Regions from separate parts of the Homo sapiens genome. Here regions 2 and 3 are each linked to region 1. The links are contacts of gene promoters, found by promoter capture Hi-C in human tissues and cell types (Jung and others, 2019). All regions are on one chromosome and are shown on one strand. Each heading gives the region's core, a stretch centred on a gene start or on the middle of the fragment in contact. The rest is flanking DNA. Distances are from core to core; before and after follow the strand shown. Region 1 holds the start of DMWD (DM1 locus, WD repeat containing). Region 2 overlaps NPAS1 (neuronal PAS domain protein 1). Region 3 overlaps ARHGAP35 (Rho GTPase activating protein 35).

What was found. Contacts are between HindIII fragments. The study calls those that stand out against the background at their distance.
Region 2: a fragment that was not itself captured here is called in contact with the fragment with the promoter of DMWD in region 1 in 1 of the 25 tissues and cell types used here (adrenal gland).
Region 3: a fragment that was not itself captured here is called in contact with the fragment with the promoter of DMWD in region 1 in 1 of the 25 tissues and cell types used here (hippocampus).

Annotation. Positions count from the first base shown.
Region 1 is chr19:45,790,244-45,794,748 of GRCh38, forward strand. DMWD (DM1 locus, WD repeat containing) reads right to left here and starts at 2,602. Exons shown (of 5, transcript NM_004943.2): 1 at 2,073-2,602; 2 at 662-844. The coding sequence starts at 2,513. RefSeq lists enhancers at 973-1,032, 1,053-1,102 and a silencer at 2,251-2,730. The HindIII fragment of the contact is 5,315 bases long and covers 1,335-4,505 here.
Region 2 is chr19:47,035,482-47,039,986 of GRCh38, forward strand. It overlaps NPAS1 (neuronal PAS domain protein 1), which reads left to right. Exons shown (of 12, transcript NM_002517.4): 6 at 483-648; 7 at 3,555-3,670; 8 at 3,926-4,083. Among named protein-coding and RNA genes, the nearest start is that of TMEM160, 11 kb to the right of the region's middle. The HindIII fragment of the contact is 4,479 bases long and covers 1-3,490 here.
Region 3 is chr19:46,892,426-46,896,930 of GRCh38, forward strand. All of the region lies in intron 1 of ARHGAP35 (Rho GTPase activating protein 35), which reads left to right. Among named protein-coding and RNA genes, the nearest start is that of ARHGAP35, 34 kb to the left of the region's middle. RefSeq lists a silencer at 570-649. The HindIII fragment of the contact is 4,402 bases long and covers 195-4,505 here.

The sequences.
Region 1 (4,505 bases), core at 1,352-3,851:
GAGGTTGCAGTGACCCGAGATTGTACCACTGCACTCCAGCCTGGGCGACAGAGTGAGACTCCGCCTTAAAAAGAAAAAAAAAATTAAAAACAATAAAAATTACAATTACAATTAAAAAAAAAAAAAAGAACCGGGCATGGTGGCTCACACCTGTAATCCCACCACTTTGGGAGGCCGAGGTGGGCAGATCACGAGGTCAGGAGATCGAGACCATCCTGACTAACACGGTGAAACCCCATCTCCACTAAAACTACAATAAATTAGGCGGGCGTGGCAGCAGGTGCCTGAAGTCCCAGCTACTCAGGAGGCTGAGGCAGGAGAATGGCATGAACCCGGGAGGTGGATCTTGCAGTGAGCAGAGATCGCGCCACTGCACTCCAGCCTGGGTGACAGGGTGAGACTCCATCTCAAAATAAATAAATAAAAGAAAGAAAGAAAGAAAGAAAACCCAAGGAGTAAAGTATTCAGCACAAGGGTAACACAGCACAGGGCCTGGGTACAGTAAAGGCAGCTGTCATTAGCTGCTGTCACCCCATTCTCCATCTCTCCCTGGTCCTGCCCCTCTCAGGCCTACACTGTTCCGCAGGCAGCTGCATCCTAATGGCATATAGTGGGTAGGTGAGAAGGCAGAGAAGTTGGGGGCTCTGGGGGCTGCAATCACCTCCTCATTGAACAGCTTGCTGGTGTCCTTTTTGATGAGATCCAGGTACTGCACTTGACCCGCTGAGAAGCCCACCAGCAGCGAGATGGTCTCGGTGGCAGCAGTGAACTGGTTGAAATCGTGGCAGGTGGGCTGGGTGCCCTTGTAGATCCGCTTGTCAATTGGCTTGTTGAGGTCAATGGACTTGAGGGGTGGGAGAAAAGGAGTTAATGGTGTATGCCACTGAGGAGAAGGAAGAGGATGTTGAGGTTGGGGGAAACCACTAAGAGGAAGCAGGGTTAGAACCCAGAGGGAAGTGGGGAGGTGAGTAGGTGGATTGCGAAGGACGGGGCAACCACAGACGGGAAGGGGACCCAAATCACAGACAAGAGTAGCAAAAAAGATGGTAAGGATCCCCCTTGACCACAGTGCCTCCCCAAAGTTGGGTCACCTCTAATTCAGAGACACCCTTGTCCACATAATCAGGGTTCTGGGTCCACACAGTTCCTAAGCTCCGATTCCTTTTAGCCTCACCACTCCATCCTATAACCTCAGCAACTCCCTTGGGACCTAGTACCACACTATTCCAAGACCCCCAAACCTTGAGGTCACCCAAATTTCCAGGACTCTAAAGCCTAACATCCTAGCATTCTCTTCACTTTGTAGTCCCTAAACCGCCACAGTTCTGGGACCCGTCAAACCTCACGGTCTCCCACATTTTAGGCCCATTTATTACCTAGGGGCTCCGAAGGATCCCCATCATTTCTGGGATCACCATAAACGGCCAGGGTTCTCACCACATCGCTTTAGAGATGTCCTGAATCACACCTGCAGATTCCCCTGCCAGGGCCTCTCATTCCCTTGAGAGCTCCCATCAGCTTCCGGACGCTCATCTCCTCCAGGACCCTCATGACTTCCAGACCCCAATTTTCTCTAGAATCCCATTCAGCTTCTGGATCCCCTATCACCTTCAAGGCCCCCATCACTTCTAGACTTCTCCTCATTCCTGGGCTCAATCTCAAGACCCCTCTCCCACACCTCCAGGCTGCAATACTGGGTTCTCCATCACCTCTGGGCTTGCATCACCTCATGATTCCCCATTACCTGCAGAATGCCTGCCACCCCAGAACCCGGGGGATCCCACCTCATCTCAGATACCCCATCATGTCCAATAGTCACCATCCCAGAACTCCTACGCATAACGGGGGTAAAGGGGATTTCCCCCATCACCTCCAAGATGCCTGCCCAGCACCCCGCGGGCCTCTCATCACATTTCAGAATCCTGTACTCCCTCCAATGCTGTCGCCCTACAACGTCCATCACATTTAGAATGCCTATCTCAGGGCCCCATATCAATTCGGGGACCCTCCTATCAGTTCTCTGGAACCTCCATCCTTTCAGCACCCAGGGCCCCACGATGCAGGCCGCTCACCCGTTGGCTCCCACGACGACAGCAGCCTGGGTAGAAATAGAGCTCACGGCCCAAGTTGAAGCAGACGCGGTCTCCCCCCGAGCCCAGCCCCGCGGGCGTGGCGGGCGGCTCCCCGGCCCCGGCGCTGTCCGGCTCCCCGAGGCGCACGAGGCTGAGGCGCACGGCGGGCAGGGCGGGCCCGGGTCCGGGGCCTGCGGGCGGCGGGGACGACGCGGGGCCTGCAGCGCCGGGACCGGAGGCGGAGGCAGGGCCGGGCGGGGGCTGCGGTGGCTGAGGCGGCACCGGAGTCTGGGCGGAAGCCGGACCCGACCTGCGAGCGGCGCCGTCGCCCGGGAGTAGCTTGTAGAAACCCTCGCGCGTGCGGAATTGCGACTTAATCTCCGCGCAGTCCCCCATGGCGGCGCCGGGGCCCGAGCCGCCCTCCGCGCCGCCCGCCGCCATCTTGGGCGCCCCCCGGGCCCCGCCACTGCCGGACTGCCGCCCGCAGCCGGGCCCCCTCCCGGAAGCCGCTGGCCCGCGCCGGAAAAGGTGGGGTCGTCGCCCGGGCAACGCCTCTTCGATTGGCACCCAGATCCGGAGGCGGGACGAATCCCCGCGGTCGCTCGGGTAACGGTGCTGGGACTGTGGGCGGGGCGAGAAGGTGGGCGCGGCCTTTGAGCCTGTGACCGACTTGTGGTTGGCTGCGGGGGCGGAGCCCGCAATGGAAAGAGGCGTGGCCAGTTAGAAAGCTCAAGTCCTTAGCAACCGCGCCCTGGGAACGTTTGCCTAGCAACGGAGGGATTTTTTTTTTTTTTTCCCCCACGACAAAGAAGCCCTCATCCATAGTCCAGCCTTCCCATGAAGTCACAGCCAACCCCAAGTGACCCTGGTCTCTCCTTAGACGCCCAATATACACTCCCCTGACCTCCAGTGTTTCCCACTGACATATTCAAATCCCTGAATGACCACAGCATCTGCTACCATTCTTCCCCACCCTTGGTGACCCACCAAATCCCTGTGTCCCCACACAACTCAGAGGACTTCCTCTGACCCACTATTGATTAATGCTAACTCCAAACATCCTTCATATTTTCCACCAACCTCCAATGTATATTTCCATGATTTTCTTATTTTCAACAACCTCACTTGTCCTCCAAAACCTACCTCTGATTCCCAAATTGTATTGATCCCCACGGTGCCCCAGTGTCCCAGTGATCCACTCGTAACCCAAAGTCTCCCCCTGATCCCAACAGCTCCTACTCATAGCCAGTGCTCCCCATGTCTGCTGAAGCCACCCAGCCCCATCATAGATCTTTCTAGTCTCATGTAGTCAATGGCCTCTACGATTTCTCCCTAGAGTGTCCCAAGGGCATCTCACACTTAAAAAAAAAAATCCTACAATGGTTCGGGCATGGTGGCTCATGCCTGGAATCCGAGAATCCCAGCACTTTGGGAGGCTGAGGTGGGAGGATCGTTTGAGCCCAGGAGATCAAGACTGCTATGAATTCACATCACTGCACTAAAGCCTGGGGGACAGAGTCAGACTCAGTCTCTCTAAAAAAAAAAAAAAAAGAAAGAAAAAAGAATCCTACAATGAAATTGACGTCTTACACCAAATCCTCCACCTCTCTTGCATCCCCACCTTAGGGCTAGCTCTGCCGTCCACTCAGTCAACCAGGCCACAGACCTGGGTGTCTTCCTAGATGTGTACCATTTATCTTCACTCTGCCCCCGCTTACAGCCTCCAAGTCTTTTGCATTCGACCACGTGGAATTCCTCTTTCTCAGTTCCTTGTTCTCCCTGATCCAAGCTTCTCCTCTACCCAAGCCCTTCCCCCACCCCCACATCAACCGTGTCTCTTGGTCTCCCAGATTTCTGTCTCACCCCCACTTCCACCTTTCACTTGGCATGTAGAGAGGTTTTATTTTGTTTTTGTTTTTGTTTTTTTTGAGACAGTCTCACCCTGTCACCCAGGCTGGAGTGCAATGGCTCCATCTCGGCTCAGAGACGGGGTTTCACCATGTTGGCCAGTCTGGTCTCGAACTCCTGACCTCAGGTGATCCACCCACCTCGGCCTCCCAAAGTGCTGGGAGTACAGGCATGAGCCACTGCACCCGGCTTTTTTTTTTTTTTTTTTTTTTTTTGAGACAGAGTCTCGCTCTTGTCACGTGGGCTGGAGTGCAATGGGACGATTTTGGCTCACTGCAACCTCTGCCTCCTGGGTTCAAGTGATTCTCCTGCCTTAGCCTCCTGAGTGGCTGGGATTACAGGCACCTGCCACCACACCCAGCTACTTTTTTGTAGTTTTAGTAGAGACGGGGTTTCACCATGTTGGGCATGCTGGTCTCAAACTCCTGACCTCAGGTGATCCGCCAACCTTGGCCTCCCTAAGTGCTGGGATTACATGTGTGACCCACTGCACTAGGCCTAGAGAGGTCTTTCTAAAGCATGAAT
Region 2 (4,505 bases), core at 1-2,500, 1.2 Mb after region 1:
GCTAGGAGAGAGATTTACGGGTAGAATTGAATGTAAAAGTGTCTGATTGAAAAGCTCTAACTCTTTAAGAGCTTAAAAACCACTCCCCTGTTTGTATCTTGAATCTCATTCCTGCTGGGACACCCAGTGATTCATGCCAGGGCACAGTTGTTTGCTGTATGGGGGTGGTAGTGAGTAAGCAGGAGTTGGGTAAACGGAGGTTCTGACACCTCCCACCCACGCCCCACTCCCACACACAGCCCCTTAATAGAGTGGGCGGGGAAAAATCCTTACTAATCACTGGGTATGAAGCGAGAAGAGTCTAAGTTTGTATCTTCCGTTTGAAAGGTAATTGTTTTTTGTTTTTTTCTTTTCTTAAAAAAACACACTGGCATGAAGCGCACCTGCGTGCAGGCAAATGAGGCAAGGCTGAGCCCAGAGGGCGAGCGAGTTACTGCGCGCGCACCTCACCCGCCCCCTGCATTCCCCTCCTTCGCCGGCAGGTGGAGATGACGGGCAGCAGCGTCTTCGACTACATTCACCCTGGGGACCACTCAGAGGTGCTGGAGCAACTGGGGCTGCGGACGCCGACGCCCGGCCCCCCAACCCCGCCCTCCGTCTCCTCTTCCTCCTCCTCTTCCTCTTCGCTTGCAGATACCCCCGAGATCGGTAATTCTAAGGGCTCCTAAAGAATGAAGTCTGAGGGTAGATCGGGGGACGCCCGCTGTACTGTATCCAGCCATGCCGCGTTTATACAAATAGCAGTGAAGTTAGAACTGTGTAGAACGAATCTTTGCAAAAGGAATCGGAGTATAAATTGAGGCGGTGAGACTTGGTTCCTTAAGCTTGCCAAACTCCCAAAGATTCGAGCTACAGAAAGACCCCCCTGGCTGCTGAAAGGAGTTGGGAGAGGCTTAGGTAAATAACAAGGCAGGCTTATTGGGAATATACACCGGCTGTGTCTGTAAGTGCACAATCACATTACATAATTACGTTAGGGCCGGGCGCGGCGGCTCGCGCCTGTAACCCCGGCACTTCGGGAGGCCCAGGGGGGCGGATCACTTGAGCTCGGTTGGAGACCAGCCTGGGCAACATAGTGAAACCTCATCTCTACAAAAATTACAAAAAAGGCCAGGAGTGGTGGCACAAAGCTGTAGCCCCAGCACTTTGGGAGGCCGAGGCGGGTGGGTCACCTAAAGTCAGGAGTTTGAGACCAGCCTGGCTTGCATAGTGAAACCCCATCTCTACTAAAAATACAAAAAAAAAAAAAAAATTAGCTGGGTATGGTGGGGGGTGCCTGAGTCCCAGCTACTCGGGAGGCTGAGGCAGAAGGATCACTTGAACCCAGGAGATGGATGTTGCAGTGAGCAGAGATTGTGCCACTGCACTCCAGCCTGGGCGAGTCCAAGACTGTCTCCAAAAAAAACAACAACAACAAAAGAAAGAAAAAAACATTAGCTGGGCATGATGACACATGCCAGTGGTCCCAGCTACTTGGGAGGTGGGAGGATGGCTTGAGCCTTGGGGACAGAGGTTGCAGTGAGGAGATCACGTTGCTGCACTCCAGCCCGGGTGACAGAGCCAGTGTCTGGAAAAAAAAAAAAAAAAAGGCTGGGTGCGGTGGCTCACGCCTGTAATCCCAGCACTTTGGGAGGCCGAAGTGGGCGGATCACCTGAGGTCGGGAGTTCGAGACCAGCCTGGCCAGCATGGTGAAACCCCATCTCTACTAAAAATACAAAAATTAGCCGGGCGTGGTGCAGGTGCCTGTGATCCCAGATACTCAGGATGCTGAGGCAGGAGAATCGCTTGAACCTGGGAGGTGGAGGTTGCACTGAGCCGAGATCAGGCCATTGCACTCTGAGTGAGACTCCGTCTCCAAAAAAAAAAAAAAAAAAAAAAAAAAAAAATTGCATTAGATCCTAAGCGCAGGCCCACAATGCAAGAAGTGTTATCTCCATTTTACATCAGAAAACTGAGGCACGGCGCGGAGAGGTTAAGTTAATTGCCCCCAGGTCACACAGCTATAAGTGATTGAGTTGGATTCTAGCCCAGGTCTGTCTGTTCCGGGGTCAGCACGCCTAACCCTTCTCTCCAGTGGAAATTTCCACTCCCACTGTGTATGGGAGGGAGGGTGCTGCAGATTACCCTGCCGGCTCTTTTTAGCTCTGAGATGTTGGGGGCCTATGAGGCTAACTATCCTGTAAATAGGATTTTCCAATCTTGGGTTTGCTTAACACCAAAAACATCTGAGACATCAGCTGTGCTTGCAAGCGTGGGGCGAAGTCTGCAACACGTGCAGGCTGTTGGGGAGTGGGACTGTGTTTGTACCTGAGTTTTAGGCACAGGGTCATCTGTGTGTGAGCATATTTTTAAGACCGTTTTGTAGGGGTTACAGAAGGATCTGGATTTGTGAGTCTTATTTATTGCTATTCCCCAATCCCCTGTTCTGGGCCAGCCCCTGTCCTGGTGACATAGGAGTGACCATGACAGCTCCAGCCCCACCCACCTGGGGCTCCCAGTCCAGTGAGGGGAGACCAACCTGTCCTCAGACAGTGGCAACCCAGATGGGGCAGGGCTGGGATAGGGGAACCCAGAGGGGATGGCTGACCCAGCCTGAGGGTCAGGGAGGGCTTCTTGGAGGAGGAGAAGTCTGTGCTGAGACCTGGAGGATGGGTCCTGAGAGGTGGGCTTTCCTCTCAAGGCCTCAGGAAGCTATGGCAGGTTCAGAGCAGGGGAGGGTGGAGGCACGTTTGAGCATTAGAAAGACGTAGATGGGGCCAGGCGCAGTGGCTCACGCCTGTAATCCCAGCACTTTGGGAGGCCGAGGCGGCCAGATCACGAGGTCAAGAGATTGAGACCATCCTGGCCAACATGGCGATACCCCGTCTCTACTAAAAATACAAAAACTAGCTGGGCATGATGGCGCGTGCCTGTAATTCCAGCTACTCAGGAAGCTGAGGCAGGAGAATCACTTGAACTGGGGAGACGGAGGTCGCAGTAGGCCGAGATCGTGCCACTGCACTCTAGCCTGGTGACAGAGCGAGACTCCAGCTCAAAAAAAAAAAAAAAAAAGACATGGATGGGACCAGACATGGTGGCTCACACATGTAATCGTAGCACCTTGGGAGGCCAAGGAGGGCAGATCCCTTGAAGTCAGGAGTTCAAAACCAGCCTGGCCAACATGGCAAAACCCCGTCTCTACTAAAAATACAAAAATTAGTCGGGCATGGTAGCATGTGCCTGTAATCCCAGCTACTTGGGAGGCTGAGGCAGAAGAATCACTTGAACCCAGGAGGCGGAGGTTGCAGTGAGCCAAGATTGCGCCATTCACTCCAGCCTGGACAACAGAGTGATATTCAGTCTCAAAAAAAAAAAGAAAGGATGCGGATGGCTGCCACATAGGGGAGCCCACATACTGTCCCCATGAGCTTTCAAAATCATCAGGCATGCCTCTGAGTGCGGCCGTGGCCCAGCGGACATCTTGTGTCTATGTCCGGCTGGCTCTGCAAGGGTCAGGGTGGCCTGTGTGTTTCCTCTTCAGGACCCCATAACCTTCCTTCACTCTCTGTCCCAGAGGCCAGCCTCACCAAGGTGCCCCCCTCCTCCCTGGTCCAGGAGCGCTCCTTCTTTGTCCGCATGAAATCCACGCTCACCAAGAGGGGGCTGCACGTCAAGGCCTCAGGGTACAAGGTGGGTGTGAGCAGTCAGGCTCCTGTATTCCAGGCAGCCATGTCCCCAGATTGAGGGTGACCGAGGGAACCAGGCTGGTGGCTTCACTGGCTGCAGGTGGCTTAGGGAACTGGGTCTGGGAATGGGACTGGGGGGGTCACACAGTGTCCAGTCCTCCAGCACCTGTGGGGGACAGAGGGAACCCAGCCCAGTGATGGTCCTCTTGCCCCCACTGGCCCGCCTTGTCCCTCCTCCAACCATGCCCACCACCAGCAGGTCATCCACGTGACTGGGCGCCTTCGGGCCCACGCCCTGGGCCTTGTGGCCCTCGGGCACACGTTGCCCCCGGCCCCCCTGGCTGAGCTGCCACTCCATGGACACATGATCGTCTTCCGTCTCAGCCTGGGTCTCACCATCCTTGCTTGTGAGAGCAGGTACCGGGGTTGGGGGCTGTGGCGGGTGGATTGGGGGCACAATGGAGATCTGGGGGTACATGGGGAGTCAGAGGGAGTGCTGGGTCTGCAGGATAGGGCACTGGGGAGCCATGGGAGGCGGAACAGCAATGGATGGGACAGGGTGATGGGGAGAAGGGAGGGAAGGCAGGGGACCAGGGCGGAGGCCTAGCCCAGGGGTGCCTTCGGGGATGGAAGAGGGGCTGTGTCTTGGGTCCGGGCCCTCCTTCTGGGGCTGCAGATCTTGGCCCGTCTCTGGTCTTTCATTTCTCATTTCTCTGGTCTTTCATCTCTCATCCATTTCCTCTCCTGCATCCCGCAGTGGAGGCAAATTAAGTGCTGAAATAGTCCCATGCTCTGAGGTGTCCAGGGTGCCTAGGGCCTTGCCACTAGCATCCACGCGA
Region 3 (4,505 bases), core at 1,146-3,645, 1.1 Mb after region 1:
ACGCCACTGTACTCCAGCCTGGGTAACAGTGAAACCCTGTCTCAAAAAAAAAAAAAAAAAAAAATTGGTTAATGGACCTGTTGGGTGGGTATGGAGCCACAGTTGGTACCTTTGATCCTGAAATTGTCCATTATAATAAGATATTACTGAGAGCAATTTTCTAAAGTACGAAGTATGTAATGAAGATACAGGGAGAATATTCAGAAGTTTTTGTTGGCTGCTTTTTTTTTTTTTTTTTCTGCCAGGAGTAGGTGGGACAAGTATAAAGGAAAGTGGTATCAGGAGGAAGTAAGAAGTAAGAAACCACCTAAATAATTGTTAGCTGCTTGTCCTCATAGTTCTTTCCATAGGTTGATTCTGAGTTGGGGCGTCTCTGCACTGTACCTTGCAATCAGGCCGGACCACTTGCTTTTTCCTGAACACTGTGTTCAGGCTTTGTATGTTCATGAGGTCCCTCTGCCTAGAGTATCTCTTCTCCCAACATTTGTAAGTCCAGTTCTCCATGCATCAGAGCTTCCTGGTGTTGCCTTTTAGAGTTCTCATCAGCTTATAACTCCCTGGAGAGCACTGACTCTCATCTTCGGATCCTTCACCGTCATGGTCCTTTGCACATGGTAGGTGCTAAATAAAGGGTTGTGGAACTAAGTGAAGAGTGATACATATGAAGGAAACAAACACCTGTGTAAGGGAGAAGGCTATAAATTAAAATTTTCAGATACCAGTGAATTCTGCGGGGGAGCTTGGGAAACCCTTAGAGTTTCACTGACAACCTGAATAGGGGGAGGAGCCTGCCCTGAGTTAGGAAGCAGGAGTGTGGGGAACAGGTAGCCAGCCATAAGGTCTTGGCCAGGTCATATCACTTCTGGACTGGAGTTAACACCTTCAAAAACTGTTCGGGTTGGACTTTTTGAACATATAATAGAGGTGATGTTGATGAGCATCTACCGTATACCAGGTACTACTCTAGGTCCTGGGAATATAGTAGGTTGCCACCAGACAAGACCCCTTCTTTTCTAGTGGGAAGCATTGGGTGGGAAGTTAGTCCTTTCTAGCCTTAAAATGCTGTGATTCTGTCATCTGAAGAATGGGCACCAACTTCTGCTTGGGATTGTTTTGAGGATCAAATGAGAAAGCACTTTAAAGATTATAAAACACACTTACCTTGTTTATTATGAATACTTCTCTCCCCCCTTGGTTTTGCCCCCCTTGGTTTTGACTTAGGTTTTTTAAAAGTTTAAAATTGAATTGTACCAATAGGAGTATGAACTAATGATCCCAGGGTTTAGGTAGATTTGGGGACTTAAATCTTTCAATAAGTGATCCTTTAGCTAGATTGGGATGTAGGTTTGTAATATCATCTTCACCAGTGAAAAATGTATTGGGGGGGAAGTCCATTTATTTATGGATATTTTGGATATTTTGTTTCTGCCTTAACATAAGTTCGTTCGTTCGTTCTTTCTCTTTTTTTTTTTTTTTTTTTAAGATTTCAAACTGTCTCTGCCATTATTCTTAAATACAACTTTATATTGGTGAAGGCTGCTTGTCAGGGAAAAACCAAACTTCTCTACTGATTTGGGATTTTTTTTTACCATAAATTCAGGGTGCAGTTGTTCTTGAAGTGGTTCCATTTTGTGATTAGGCTGAGTATTTTTAAGCACAACTCTCTCCCTTGTCCTTAGAATTATCTCCAGTATCCTCAAAACAAAGAGCAAATGATGCAATTAGGATGCAATCCCTTGCCTGTGGATTTCAAGGAAAATTATTTTCCACACTACTTGGAAGCTCATGGACAAAGTCAAGCTTTCTTTAGATCTGGTGAACTTAGAAAAAATAACTTGATGAAGTGAGATTCTTACCTTGAGGTTAGTTTTTGAGAGTGGATCAATGATGTGAAATTTCTAAGATATTCTTGATTTATAAATATCACTTTATGACTCATTCCTTGGAGCAGTTTTTATTTTTTCCTTTGAAAAACTTTAGATGTAATTGACTTTGGTTTACACTCTATCCTGTTTTTTGGTTTTTTTTTTTTTTTTTTTGGAGACGGAGTCGCTCTGTTGCCCAGGCTGGAGTGCAGTGGCACGATCTCTGCTCACTGTAACCTCTGCCTCCTGGGTTCAAGCGATTCTCCTGCCTCAGCCTCTCGAGTAGCTGGGACTACAGGTATGTGCCACCACACCCAGCTAATTTTTGTATTTTTATTGGAGATGGGATTTCACCATGTTGACCAGGCTGGTCTAGAACTCCTGACCTCAGGTGATCTGCCCGCCTCAGCCTCCCAAAATGCTGGGATTACAGGTGCAAGCCACCACGCCCGGCCATACTTTTAGTGAAAGGAAAGCCATGTATCTTTTTCTGCTGTCTCCTATGTCATGTCTTACTCTGCCGTTTTGTAATGGTCCTTGAGATTGAGATAATAGAGAGAGATTTTCTAGATTTTCACCTACTCACTGATTTTTACTACAGGCATTTTAATTCCTTTAAATTTGAGACTGATTTTCTTCCCATAGTATTTAACTTATCATCATCCTTATAGGAGGGCCAGACCCTTAGGATTTATGTGAATACTGCTAGTTGGTAGGAAAGGTACTTTTCCTGAAGCCTTGAAAGAGTATTTCCAGAATAGTGAGCTTCATATTTTTTTGGTAACTTTTTTTTAAAGGTATACTTTCTGTGTAAATAGAAATGAATTTTTGCAATTGGATGAGGGGGAAAAAAGCTGAAATTTAAGGGCAAAATCTTTTTTTTTTTTTTTTGAGACGGAGTCTCGCTCTGTCACCCAGGCTGGAGTCCAGTGGCGCGATCTCGGCTCACTGCAAGCTCCACCTCCCGGGTTCACGCCATTCTCCTGCTTCAGCCTCCCGAGTAGCTGGGACTACAGGCGCTCACCACCACGCCCGGCTAATTTTTTTGTATTGTTAGTAGAGGCGGGGTTTCACCGTGTTAGCCAGGATAGTCTTCGATCTCCTGACCTCGTGATCCACCCGCCTCGGCCTCCCAAAGTGCTGGGATTACAGGCGTGAGCCACCGCGCCCAGCCGGGCAAAATCTTATAGCATCTTATCCCTTCTATGGTTTGGGAAATTAAGAAAAGTGCACGTTGGTGTTTTCTCACAATTTAATGCTCAGGCAAGTAAAATGATATCCTTAATTGCAAGTTACTGAAGTTGAAAGGCGACCATTTCCCATCAATTAGAAATGGTCTTTATGGTTAACTCTGGCAGAAATTCTGTTCTTCTGTGAGGCTTGGGTGATATCAGTAATCCTATTGAGGAGAGAGCATATTGAATCCTCTGACTTTGGGCAAATAATTTAGTCTCCAGGTCCCAATGCCCTTGTCTGTGAAATGAAGAGAATACTTACCCTTCCCGGGTGGATTTAAAAATCTGTGAGGAAGGCCAGGTGCGGTGGCTCATGCCTGTAATCCCAGCACTTTGGGAGGCTGAGGCAGGCGGATCTCCTGAGGTCAAGAGTTTGAGACCAGCCTGGCCAACATGGTGAAACCCCATCTCTACTAAAAATACGTAATTGGCTGGGCTTAGTGGCACATGCCTGTAGTCCCAGCTACTCGGGAGGCTGAGGCAGGAGAATCGCTTAAACCCAGGAAGCAGAGGTTTCAGTGAGCCAAGATCGCGCCACTGCACTCCATCCTCGGTGACAAGAATGAAACCCCGTCTCAAAAAAAAAGCTATAAGGAAGCCCAGCACAGTGGCTCACACCTGTAATCCCAAGCACTTTGGGAGGCCTAGGTGGGAGGATCACTTGAACTCAGGAGTTCAGACCAGCCTAGGCAACATGGTGAAACCCTGTTTCTACAAAAAATTAGCCAGGCGTGATGGTGTGCACCTGTAGTCCCAGCTGAGGTGTATCACCGGAGCCCGGGAGGTCAAGGCTGCAGTGAGTGGTTATTGCGCCACTGCACCTGCACTCCAACCTGGGCAACAGCAAGTCCCTGTCTCAAATAAAAGCTAAGAAGGCAAGTTTTGTAATAGTACTTTGAGCAGCATAAGGTACATATACAAAATATTGTGGGAAATATATTATGAAGTTTTGCATCTAGGTACATAAGAGACTGTTTCCCTCACAGTGGAGAGCTTTGGTAAAAGAGCAAGTGGATTAGAGCAGTTGTAGCTTCTGTTTTCTCCAGAAAGCTCACGCTGTGCAGCAGCTGTTTTTGTCCATTCTGGCTTTGCAGCAGTGCAGTATTGGGGTTAAGCCACGTGTGTGGGCCTCAGAGGCAGGCAGCTGGGGCCATACTAAGCCGGGTGATCTTGAACGAGTCTCTTGACCTCTGCAAGCCTGTTTTCTCATCTGTAAAATGGGGATTATAATAGTAGCTGCTCTGTTGGGTTACTGTGAGAAATGCTTAATATGGATTGTAGGGCATGATTTCCTATGGTAAGGTTTTTAGAAGTAATAATGGACCAGCTAAAAATGTTCAAGCATTTATCTACTGGGCATGTTGTCTTTTTTTCTTTCTTTCTTTTGAGACAGCTTCTTGTTCTG